Regions from separate parts of the Homo sapiens genome. Here all the other regions are linked to region 2. Evidence: promoter capture Hi-C in human tissues and cell types (Jung and others, 2019). All regions are on one chromosome and are shown on one strand. The core of a region is centred on a gene start or on the middle of the fragment in contact, and the rest is flanking DNA. Distances in the headings are between cores, read along the strand shown. Region 1 overlaps GLYR1 (glyoxylate reductase 1 homolog). Region 2 holds the start of UBALD1 (UBA like domain containing 1). Region 3 overlaps UBN1 (ubinuclein 1).

Region 1 (3,823 bases), core at 731-3,230, 210 kb after region 2:
TCGACACCATCCTGGCTAACATGATGAAACCCCGTCTCTACTAAAAACACAAAAAATTAGCCGGGCGTGGTGGCGGGCACCTGTAGTCCCAGCTGCTCCAGAGGCTGAGGCAGGAGAATGGCATTAACCCAGGAGGCGGAGCTTGCAGTGAGCCGAGATTGCGCCACTGCACCGCAGCCTGGGCGACAGCACGAGACTCCGTCTCAAAAAAAACAAACCAAAAAACCAAAAAACCAAAAAACGAATTGAAGGTTTGTGGCAACCCAGTATCAATCAAATCTATGGGGGACATTTTCCCAACAGCATGTGTTCACTTTGTGTCTCTGTCAGCATTTTTTTTTTTAAGCAATGAAGTATTTTTAACTTAAGGCATGTATATATATATATTTTTTTGAGATGGAGTCTCGCTCTGTCACCCAGGCTGGGGTGCAGTGGCGTGATCTCGGCTCACTTCAAGCTCCGCCTCCCGGGTTCACGCCATTCTCCTACCTCAGCCTCCTGAGTAGCTGGGACTATAGGCGCCCACCACCATGCCCGGCTAATTTTTCGTATTTTTAGTAGAGACGGGGTTTCACCGTGTTAGCCAGGATGGTCTCCATCTCCTGACCTCATGATCCGCCCGCCTCGGCCTCCCAAAGCGCTGGGATTACAGGCGTGAGCCACCGCGCCCGGCAAAGGTATGTACATTTTAAAAAGACATATTGCTATTGTACCACTTAATAGACTACAGTATAAACCTAACTTTAACATGCAATGGGAAACCAAGACGTTTGTGTGACCTGCAATGATCTGGAATCGAACCTGCAGTATCTCCAACGTATGCTACACTACTCCCCAGATTAATAATTCAGACCCAAGGGCTGTCTGCAGTTTATTGGGAGCTCGTGAGACGAGTTCCTGTAAGCCTGGGCAGTGGCCTCTGGGGTTCTCACTGTACAAACGGCCAGTGTCTGCGAAACAAACCTAAAGAACTGATCAAATGCCTTGTACACAGGCACTGTTCTAAGTGCTGTGTCCATGTCACTCATTTAACTAACACAGTGAACCTAGGAGGCACGTACTGTTGTAATTCCTAACGATGAGACAAGGAAACTGGGGCAAAGGTGCTTTGCTAAGGTCCTATATACGTGATTCAAACTCCAGGCCCTCGTCATAACCTCTCCTTTGTACTTCCCTTTATCCAACGAGAAGGTATTTCTTTCCAGGGTGGCACAGGCACCGGTGAGATGCATGGCTTCACATACCAGACAATATCAATTTGGGAAATAGCATAAAATCTGACAGCCCAGATTCCTTTTGGATTCCAGGAAATAAACTCAGAAGTCACATTACATTTTTTGTGGGTCAATTTAGATCATGTTCCCTATAAAGTTCTCTCTGCACTGCAGCTGGCAGCTTTTCCAAACCTTGGGCTGACGGTATGCAGGGACAGCACTGCCACCCTTGCTCTCACCACTCCCTCAGCCTGAGGTCATCTAACAGTGAGAAGGGCTGTCTCTCACCAGAGGCCTCACACTGGCAGCCCACAGAGATGTTTCTATGGCCCCAAGACATATTTTTGAACTAAGCACATTTAAAATTGGGATATTTCACATAAAAACCTGTATTTCCAGCTTCTCTCTTTTTTTGGAGATAGGGTCTCACACTGTTGCCCAGGCTGGAGTGCAGTGGTGGAATTGTAGGTCACTACAGCCTTGACCTCCTGGGCTCAAGTGATCCTCCCACCCCAGCTTCCCAAGTAGGTGGGACTACAGGTGTGTACCACTATGCCCAACTAGTACTTTTTGTTTCTTTTTTTGTTGTTTTTTTTGAGACAGGGTCTCGCTGTGTCACCCAGACTAAAGTGCAGTGGCATAATCTTGGCTCACTGTAACCTCCACCTCCTGGGTTCAAGTGATCTTCTCATCTCAGCTTTCTGAGTAGGGGGGACTACAGGCACACACCACCAACCCCAGCTAATTTTTAATTCATTTATATTAAATTTTTTTTTTTCTTTGAGACGGAGTCTCACTCTGTCGCCCAGGCTGGAGTGCAGTGGCGCAATCTCGGCTCACTGCAACCTCTGCCTCCTGGGTTCACGTGATTCTCCTGCCTCATCCTCCCGAGTAGTTGGAATTACAGGAGCGTGCCACCACACTCGGGTAATTTTTGTATTTTTAGTAGAGACGGGGTTTCTCCATGTTGGTCAGGCTGGTCTCGAACTCCCGACCTGAGGTGAACCACCTGCCTCGGCCTCCCAAAGTGCTGGGATTACAGGTGTGAGCCACTGCACCCAGCAAAAAAAATTTTAATAGAGATGGGGTTTCCCTATGTTGCCCAGGCTGGTCTAGAACTCCTGGGCTCAGGGGATCCTCCTGCACTGGCCTCCCAAAGTGCTAGGATTACAGGTGTGAGCTACCATGCCTGGCCAATTTTTTAGTTTTTGTAGAGCTAGTCTTCAACTCCTAAGCTCAAGCAATCTGCTCACCTCAGCCTCCGAAAATGCTGGGATTACAGGCATAAGCCACTGCACCTGGCCAACTTTGTCTTTTTTTTTTTTTTTTTTTTAAGGGAAAGGCTCTTACTATGCTTCTCAGCCTGGTCTTGAACTCCTGGGCTCATGTGATCTTCCTGCCTCAGCCTCCCAAAGTGCTATGATTGCAGGTATGAGACACCACAACTGGCCTTCCCAGCTTCTCTTGAGAAAAAACAGACAATTTGGCAGAAGCTGGCTAGAACCCTGTGGACAGAGCATGACCTCCCCAGACTCCCTGACCATGGCCAGCCCTGCTGCTCTGAGCACCAAGGCAGGTCAGCTGGGGTGCCTGGCACCCGTGCCACTGCTTCTTAGGTCCAGTCAGCTACAGTTGCTTCCATTACCTGCCTGGGCTCGCTGGTGTCTGAATTTTTGAGCCTTGATCCAAGGTCTAATGTTCCATCATGGCCTCGTCACCCAACTGTTGCTGCCAGCCATCTGGCTTCTGTTCTCTTTATCCTGCTGTTGACAATCCTACCGCGTTCCTGACACAGTCCCCTTCACTTTGAAATTCTTCTCTGTGGCCTTGTAAGACCGGCCCCAAATCTTGTCAGCAAGAAGGCGAGAGAGGCACTCTCACTGCTTTATCTCATCTTGCTAGCTCCTCCTGCTCCTTCCTGCCCCAAGCACGGCATTCTTGTGGCAATGCAGGCCTCCGCGCTTCCCTCTTCTCCCTCTCTTCCTGAAACAAACCCATTCCACTGCCCGGACTCAACTACCCTTTTACAAATTCACCTCCCAAATCTACATTTCTAGTCCTGAGGTCACACCAAGCTCCCAGGCTGTCTAGGCCTTGCCTCAAGTTCTTGACATTCCAAACAGAACTGGTACTCTTTCTCCACAAGCCACCTCTACATCCCCAGTCCTCTACTTTTAAGAAAGTGATGACCACTTTCCCAGGAATGAAGATGGAAATCCTCTTTTCCTTTTTCTCATTCATCCTCTATATAACCAATTATGGAATCTTAAGAACTCTTCCTCTGAAGTGCCTCTCACCTCTTTGCTTGCAACATTTGCAATTACCCCCTTATGAATGCACGCCTAGACTTACCTCCTAATTGGCTCTGAGACTTTCCCCTCTGCACTCGGTGACTACTGGTGCACACACGGGAGGCACACACTGCCACTGGCTCAGTCACCTTCCCGGGCCCCCACTGACTCCAAGACGCTTTAGTACCACGCTGCTTCAGTAGACCTTCAGGCCCTCCACGATCCAGGGACAAGCTTCCTTTTTCTCGGCTTTCCTCACTATCCTCTCCCTGTTCGAGAGTATCTCCACCAGCACCGAGCCTCACACGGGCTGTGCCC
Region 2 (4,313 bases), core at 1,149-3,648:
CAAGACCCTCTGTCAGCAGCAGCTGTGCCCCAAAGCCCAGGCTCACTGTGTAAATCCCAACCCCAGGAGCCCCAGGCCACACCAGACCCCCTCTGCAGGCCGCTGTGAGCATTCTCCATTGAGAAACATCTGCCCCACTAGACACCGGCCCCTCCCCCTGCAGCCTCCTGCCCCCATTAGCACCTGAATTGCAGCAAATGTGACCCAGAAACACCGCCTGGTGGATGCAGCCAGCGGGTGGAGCGTGGAGAGGGATGGGGTGGCCATGTGAACCCCTCACTCAGCCCCATTCCAAGGCCTGAAGTCCCGTCACCTTCCTCCAGCCTCCCTGGCGGCCCCCACTTTACAGATGGCACAACTGAGACTTGGGAGTGGAGGGCACAGGGCTCCTCCCATGGGGACCCTGGGAGCCACCAGAGGCCCCAGATGCTCCTGCCCCTCTGGGAACAGTCTTTCCCCAGACATTGCACTCCTCAAAGCTGCATTTTCAATTAACTGTGCCGCTGAGGGATGTGGCCTGGGTGCCAGCTGGGTGCCAGGTTTTGAGGGCTGGGCTGAGTCCTGCAGGCAGGGCCCGCTTCCCACCGGACACCTACCTGCCCAGCCCCAGGCAGCGAGGGAACCCTGCGTGCAGATGTGTAACTGCCATGAATGCGGTTTTGCAAGTTTTGCCACATCCAGCCCCTGACACAAACAGGGCTGATGAGGGCTGTGGAGACCAGGAGGGAAGCAGGGAGCTTCCTCCGGGTGGGGCTGCCTTGGGGCACAGGGGGCAGTAAGCTGGCCAACAGAAGCTGACTCATGCCCCCCAACCCCACCATACAGATGTGGAAACTAAGGCCAGAGGGACAGAGCAGCCTCCCACGTCCTGGGGTGAACACCACACAGGATCAGTGGCCTCCGCGACGGCTGGTAGGAGGGAAGTAGGCAAGGAGAGAGGGATGTACTCATCTGGATGGGATGGCCACTGCCTTCCCAGACTGTCCCAAGCTTGGGACATTCTGATCCCCCTGCAGTCCCCAGGAAGCGGAGCCTCAGAGTCCTCTGGCTTCTAGTCCCTCCTGCAGGCCCTGGGATGGCTCCTCATGGAGAAACCAGGTTCCCAGTCCCCGGCTGGGCACAGATGGTACCGGGATGGCTGAGGCCATGACCCTACCCCTGTGAGGGGCACAGCTCAAAGGGCTCTGGCCTCATCCCCTGATACCAACCACCATGGGGTTAATCCTGGGGTCGGTGAATTAGGGAAAGCCAGGTAGCCTCTGGGCAGCACAAGCCAGGAGCACTACTGTCCTATGGGTTAGGAGAGGCCCGGGGGAGTGGGTGCCAGACCGGGGCAGCATCACCTCCTACCCAGCTAGCCCGAAAGCTGGTGAACCGTGTGCACCCTCCCCATTGCACCGGTAAAGGGACAGATGCCCCTGCCAGCCCCAGGAGAGCACCTAGTCGCGCACACGGAGTCCCCAGGCACACCTCTGAAGGGGATACACGCTCATCCCTGTGGTGTAGTGTGGGGCTCCGACACGCCACCCCTACACTCCAGGCCGTGTACACACATCACACCGTGCCGGGCACGGGCGGCATCTGCACACCCGCCACATGTGTACGCGTTGATCACACACCAAACGCACCAGGGGGCTGCGCGTTCACACGCGCGCCAACGTGCCCGCAGGTCCGCCACCTCCCCGGTGCCCGGCCGACGCCGTGGCGCGGTGCGTGCGTAAACACAAATGCACATGGACGTGTGCGCACGCCGCCGACCGCCCACCAGGCACGCGGACCCTCGGACCACTCGCCCGGAGCGGCTCCGCCCTCCGGCCCAGCTCTGCCGAGGCCTGGGGCGTCCTCCTTCCGGCCGCCCGCCCGACTGTCCGTCTGCACCGCGGGGCCGCCCGGCCCTCGGCCGTTACCCGGACAAAAGGGGTGGGGGGGGTCCCCGTCTCGATCCCGGGGGACTCGCGGCCCCGCGGGGGCGGCGTATCCCCGACCGGTGGCCCGGTTCCCACCTCCGCCCGCCGCGAGCCCTTGGGATCCGGACGCCGGGCACCGCCGTCGGGAAAGCGGGTCGGGTCTGCGGCCCGGAGGGGGCGCACAGCCGGCACGCGTCCACGCCGTCCGCCCCCGCCCGGCGGCCACGCGGGACACACTCCGCCCGTGGCCCCGGCCCTCGCCCGGCTCCGGCGCCGCGCACCTCGAACTGCCAGTGGGCCGCCTGCAGCAGTTGCTTCGCCTGGTCGGCCGCGCAGCCCGCCGTCAGCACGAACTGGTTGATCATGACCTGGTGCTTGAGCTCGTCCATGTTCACGGACATGGCGCCGCCGCGCTGCCCGCTCCGGCCTCCCTCCTCCGCCCGCGCCTCCGCCTCACGCGTCCACCATTAGCGAGCCGGCTCCGGCTAATACAAATATTTACTGTGCGGCTCTGACTCACCGCGCCTCGCCTCGCTCCGCCGGCGCCGCGGCATGCTGGGATATGTAGTCCCCACGGTGCGCCGGGCGCCCCGGGGGAGCGGGGCCGGCACCCTAGGGGACGCGAAGCCCGGGAAGGGGCGTGTCTGAGCACCGAGCGCCCGCTGTGCGGATGTCCGGGCCGTAACCCGAGCCGGGCGCGTCCACGTCGTCCTCGTTGCTCTCGGTGGCACCCGTGCCCCTGCTCTGGCACGGATGGGGGTCCGCTGGCGGGGGCCACGTCTGTGCATGGGCGCAAATGCCTGACCACAGGATCTTGGCCAAGGCCTGGGGACCGTGTCTGAACTGTGAGCGCCTACTGTGTGTGGATGCCCGGGCCGTGACCAGGGTTGGGGGAGTCCACGTCGCCCTCGTTGCTCTGGGTGGCACCCGGCCCCTGCTCTGGCACGGATGGAGGTCCGCAGGCGGGGGCCTCAGGTTCGTGCATAGGCGTTTTTGCCAAGGCCCAGGAACGGTGTCTGAAAACTGAGTGCCTAATGTGTGCAGGCGCCTGAGCTGGGACCAGAGCCAGTCACGTCCACGTCGCCCTCGTTGCTCTCGGTGGCACCCACGCCCCTGCTCTGGCGGGAATTAGGAGCCCAGAGGCCGGGGCCACAGATCTGTGCATGGGCGCAAACGCCAGGCCACAGACGTCTTTGCCATGCCCCGGGGACTGTGACTGAACGCTAAGTGCCTACTGTGCGCAGCTGTCCAGACCGTGACCAGAGCCAGGCACGTCCATGTCGCCCTCATTGCTCTCGGTGGCACCCGTGCCCCTGCTCTGGCACGAATTGGGGTCCCAAGGTGGGGCATACAGATCTGTGCATGGGCGCAAACGCCGGGCCACAGGCGTCTTTGCTAAGACCTAGGGACCCTGAACCCCTCTGTGATTGGCATCGCTCTGTGTTAAATAGTAGGCACGCCCTTAAGAGAGGGGTCTCTAGGAATTTTGGCCCAAATCGGCTGGTCTAGGCTGAAAGGCCCGGCACACTGTAGGCGCCGACAAATACTCGTTCAGTGAATGAATGAATGAGCCACTTAAAAGCTCCGCCGCACGTCACCGCCTATAGCTAGCCTCCTAGCTCTCCTCACTCAATCTCTCATCGCCCACTCGTGGCATGGGTCCTTCCTAGCCTGGCTCTGGGCCTGCCCCACTGTAGCCCCATGACCCTCTGGACGGCGCCTGGGACAGGCTGGCGGGGCCAGCAGCCTCTGGTGCTTCGGGGTCCCCCTCCCAGCAGTTCTCCCGCTTTCCCACGCAAAATCTCGTGCTCTTTGCCGGAAATCTCGGCCCTTAGCGGGCGGGCGCCAAGGCCCGGCAGAGCCAGTTCCGGAGCGGCCCCAAACTCCCTTTCCCAGAATGCCTCGGTTTATTTGCATCGTTTGGTCCCGGTGACGTCAGCTGAGTGAGGTCGTGCCTCGACCAATGGACAGCCTCGGGGTGTTAGGACCTGGCCATATAAGGTAAACAAAGCTGGTCGCCCAATGAAGAGGCGGCGGGGGCGGGCGCTGGGCCGGGGAGGCCGGGGGCGGAGCCGGGGGCGGGGCGACCGGGCGGTGTTTACAGACCGGCACATGGCGCTTCCGGTTGACGTTGCTGACAGCTAGTGAGGCTTTAGCCCGCTTCGAGCGCCCGGGGGCGGTAAGGCGCGATCATAGCAGCTCTAGGTGACCTTGGTCCGGCTCCTTGCGCCCCCTGGCCCCAGCCTCCTTCGTTGAGACACTATTTGTTGAGTCTTTCCTCTTTTCCTGGCCCTGACCTAGCGTGGGGCGACAGAAGAGCAATAGCCGGGTGGGGGCTGTGAGAACGGCTGGGGTTGGGAGCGAATTTCGGAAACCCGGAGGACGAGTATAGCCTTGCAAGATGGA
Region 3 (4,226 bases), core at 1,368-3,867, 250 kb after region 2:
ATGCCTGTAATCGCAGTACTTTGGGAGGCCGAGGTGGGAGGATCACCTGAGCCCAGGAGTTCCAGACCAGCCTGGGTAACAGAGTGAGAAAAAAAAATCTAAAAATTAGTCAGGCGTGGTTGCGTGCAGCTGTAGTCCCAGCTGCTTGGGAAGCTGAGGCGGGAGGATTATTTGAGCCTGGGAGGTCAAGGCTGTATGAGCTGCGATCACGTCACTGCACTCCAGAATGGGTGACAGAGTGAGACCATCTCAATAAAATAAGATGCTGGGCATGGTGGCTCAGCCTGTAATCCCAGCATTTTGGGTGGCTGAGGCGGGCGGATCACTTGGGGTCAGATGTTTGAGACCAGCCTGGCCAACATGGTGAAACCCCATCTCTACTAAAAATACAAAAAATTAGCCGAACATGGGGGTGGGTGCCTGTAATCCCAGCTACTCAGGAGGCTGAGGCAGGAGAATCACTTGAACCCGGGAGGTGGAGGTTGCAGTGAGCTGAGATCACGCCATTGCACTCCAGCCTGGGCAACAGAACAAGACTCCGTCTCAAAAACTAAACTAAAATAAAAAAATAAAAAATAATAAGATAAAATTTGATTGGAAGTTTAAGCTGTAGATGGGTCTGAAAGTGTGGCATGTGAAATACATGTTAATTAGTTTGAATTAATGTAAGGGTGCTTCTCGATCTTAAAACTAGCAGTGTAAGCTTAAGCAAAAAAAGTTCAGTTTTATTTTTTCCCAGACTAATATAATTCTAGTACCTTCCAAGTGCTAAGGTAGAATTCTGAATGTTTCCAAGAGTGTAAGAAATTGGCACATGGCTGGGTGAAAAGTCATGCCCTTTTTTTCCATTATTCGTCTGTGGATTTCACCCCTCTGGGCTTTCACCTAGCCAAGGGATCTGTAGAAGCTTGAGTTTTGCGCATTTTCTTCTGACTTAGTTTTGGTTGTTTGGTGTTAAGCTTTTCTTCCTGTGGCGTGCCGTTTTACAGTAGTATCTTCATTTGTTGATTCATTCACTCAGTCAACATTTAGTAAATATTATGTGACAGGCAGCCATGGGAAATATACTGATGAATAAGACTCAGTTCTATATTTTATTTTATTATTATTTTTTAAGACAGGGTCTTGCTCTGTCACCCAGGCTGGAGTGCAGTGGCACGATCTTGCCTTACTGCAACCTCCACGCCCAGGGCTCAAGTGATCCTGCCACCTCAGCCTCCAGAGTAGTTGGGACCACAGGCATGCACCACCATGCCCAGCTTTTTTTTGTATTTTTAGTAGAGACAGGGTCTCATCATGTGCCCAAGCTGGTCTGAAACTCCTGAGCTCGCGTGTTCCGCCCACCTTGGCCTCCCAATGTGTTAGGATTACAGGTGTGAGCCACCGCGCCGGGCCAAGGTTCCATTCTTGTCTTTCATGAGCTCGTTACATAAATGGACCCGATAGATACGCAGACAATGGACTGTAGTACAGAGCAGAATGAAGTAAGCTTTGTGATGTGTGGACGGCCAGATAGCCGGACTTAAGGGGTTAAAGAGAGGCTCTTGGGGGGCATATAGGAAGCAGACTGGAGGCAACAGGCTTCGCCGGCCTCCTGGGGAAGATGCCCTAAGAGAAGGCAGGGAGCAGAGCTGAAGATGGGCGAGTTGGTGGATGGCTGGGCCAGATCGTGGAGGACCCCAAATGCCATGTGAAGGAGTTTGGGTTTGATACCAGGCTTGGAAAGAGCTGCTGAAGGGTTCTGAAGAAGGGAGTGGCGGTCTTAAGGTTGGAGTGCAATTATTAGAAGTGGGGAACACAGGGGAAGAGCAGAAGCCAGTGGGTCTGGTGTAAGTTGAGTTTGCAAACCAGAGGGTCATCCATCCACAGAAGTGCAGTTGACCCTTGAACAACACAGGGTTTAACTGCGTGGATCCACTTACACGCAGATGTTTTCTAACCAAATGTGGGTTGATTTGAGGGATGCTAAATCTGTGTATAGAGGGCTAACTTTTTGTATAGGCAGGTTCCTCAGGGCTGACTGTGCAGTTGGATTTTGGTATATACGGGGGTCCTGTAACCAATCCCCTGCCTATACCAGGCGTTGACTGTAATTGGGAAATTTCTCAGAGATAACTGGAAATTCTGGTCCAGAGCTTAGATGAGAGGATTTAGGGCTTAGTTTAGATTTGAGTGTACAATTGTCTGTGTTATTTTGAAGCCCTGAGGGGGAAAGAAGTTATTGGGAGAAGTGGGTTCTAGTGAGAATCCTGGGGTCCGCCTATGGAAAGGAGCTGGTGGAGGAGGCAGATGGAGCAGTTAGAGTGGTTGGAAGGGGCCCCAGAGGATGCAGTGAGAGGAAGGTGAGTGGGGGAGATGATGGTGAGGGGTTAGCAGTGTCTGCAATTTCAGAGGGGTTGATCCCTTCATTCTAGATAGTCACCTTATCACCCTTGTTTGCTGTCGTTACTGTATATCATGTCTGATTTCAGAAATTTTATTTCACCCAAAGCCTTCAGACCAGCAGCTCTTGGGTTGAGAGGAATGGTTCCCAGCCCTTTTTGCACATCAGTGTTCCCAGGGTTGCTTTGAAAGAGTACTTGGGCCACTTTTGAGAGTGTGCATTCCTGAATCTCCTTTCCAGAGACTGTGATTTGAATGGCCTGAGTTGCTCCAAGCTGCCCAGGGAATTCCAATATGCAACCAAGTGTGAGAACCCTGATGCAGACTTCCACAGGGTCTGCTTTTTTGTGTTCCCGCTGTGTCGTGGCTGCCTGCCGTGGTTGCTTCAGGGGTCTCTGAGCTTGCCATCCAGGGTGTGTGTTAACTGTGTTCTTTTCGAAAGCAAACTAAGACTGTACTGAAACTCCTATAATCTGGTGTTAATAGGTAATATGGTGGGTTAATTATTCACATGGTCTGGCTAATAGAGAGCTCGTGGTATACCATAAGTAGATTAGGAATTGTCAAAGAGTTTTAATGTCCTTAAGTGTTAGAGCTACACATTATTATTATTTTTGTAGATAAAAAGGCCTTTAAATCCTATAGACTGGTTGAAGTTCTTGAATATTTTTGTACTGTAGATACATGGAAATCCCAACTAATGGTGTAGTTGATGGTGTATGGGTGCAGGGGTTAGTTGGCCTTATTGGCCTCTGGCTAAGTGCATTGTGATGGCTTTGACTCTGATTTTCTTTTCTGTGACTGTTTTAAGTCCCAGGAAGAACTGGCAGCCCACAGATGCTGCAGCAGCATTTGAAAAGAGAATATTGATCGCAGGCGAACTTAACCTGGGACTAGGGTGGAGTTGGAAAGGTGGCGGTGTGACTGTATTGACAGGTGCTCTTTATGGAGCGATGACTCCTGTGCCTGTGGGTGAGCGTAAGGGACATGTGGGGAAAGTGCACTAACGGCTGTTACTGTCTGCTGTGCACCAGGCTGCCAGAGCTGCTGAGGGGGAGAGCAGACAGAAGTTCTTCACCCAGGATATTAATGGAATCCTATTAGAGTGAGTATCGTCTGTCTGTCTGTCTGTCTGTCTGTTTCTGCTATTACTGAGCTTGGGGCAAGCCAGCTAGGGGACAGTGGGAGTACAATTGAACTGCATAAAGGTGACCACCAAGGAGATAAAAGAAGAATTGGATTAACATGGTTTCATTGTTATTTTTCTTTTAAAAATCAAAACACAACAGGGACACCAAGTACTTGTCTCCAGAAGCGATAGACCTCCTTGATCTTAGGCAGCAGGCATTAATAACATGTGATAATCATGGCCTGTTAGAAGAGGATTTCTTGGCAGGTATGAGATGAGGAGAGAGAGAAGGTGTTGCCTGACTGTCTCTGAGAATCCTGAAGAATGAGAGACAGCCTGGTGGCCTCGGGCCTGCTCTGCCTTGGGTGTTGCTTGGCGTCCCTGGCTGTTCCGCTCGCTGGCACTCCTGTTCCTAGTGCCACGTGCATCATCCCTAATGCTGTTCCCACATGCCTGAGCCTCTGAGACACCACGCTGTGTGAATCGGGTTAAAAAACAGATGAGCAAACATTTGTAAATCCAGACTGGGAAAAGTGAATCCTTGTGGCCTGGCCTGCAGTGTTGCCGCTTTTCTCCTGGTTGCAGTTTGTGGCAGGGGAAGCTTGTTGCTCAACAGCTGAGGAGTTTGTGTGTGTAAGAACAGTTGTCAAAATGTGGGTGTTCTACCACATGGCCTCGCCTGGCCGGGACCTGGATTGGCCCCTTGGGTCAGGAA

The links. The method cuts DNA at HindIII sites, captures the fragments that hold promoters and counts their contacts. A contact is called where the count stands out against the background at its distance.
Region 1: a contact is called between a fragment that was not itself captured here and the fragment with the promoter of UBALD1 in region 2, in 1 of the 25 tissues and cell types used here (thymus).
Region 3: a fragment that was not itself captured here is called in contact with the fragment with the promoter of UBALD1 in region 2 in 1 of the 25 tissues and cell types used here (dorsolateral prefrontal cortex).

What each region holds. Positions count from the first base shown.
Region 1 is chr16:4,827,695-4,831,517 of GRCh38, forward strand. The region is part of intron 5 of GLYR1 (glyoxylate reductase 1 homolog); the gene reads right to left. Among named protein-coding and RNA genes, the nearest start is that of GLYR1, 18 kb to the right of the region's middle. The HindIII fragment of the contact is 6,084 bases long and covers 1-3,823 here.
Region 2 is chr16:4,612,490-4,616,802 of GRCh38, forward strand. It overlaps UBALD1 (UBA like domain containing 1), which reads right to left and starts at 2,399. Exons shown (of 3, transcript NM_145253.3): 1 at 2,189-2,399. The coding sequence starts at 2,308. RefSeq lists silencers at 1,580-1,749, 1,830-1,939, 1,980-2,079, 2,420-2,659, 3,903-4,132 and enhancers at 2,611-3,183, 3,184-3,755, 3,593-3,852. The HindIII fragment of the contact is 16,802 bases long and covers 1-4,313 here.
Region 3 is chr16:4,865,417-4,869,642 of GRCh38, forward strand. UBN1 (ubinuclein 1) reads left to right here. Exons shown (of 18, transcript NM_001079514.3): 8 at 3,417-3,487. Among named protein-coding and RNA genes, the nearest start is that of UBN1, 20 kb to the left of the region's middle. The HindIII fragment of the contact is 3,369 bases long and covers 934-4,226 here.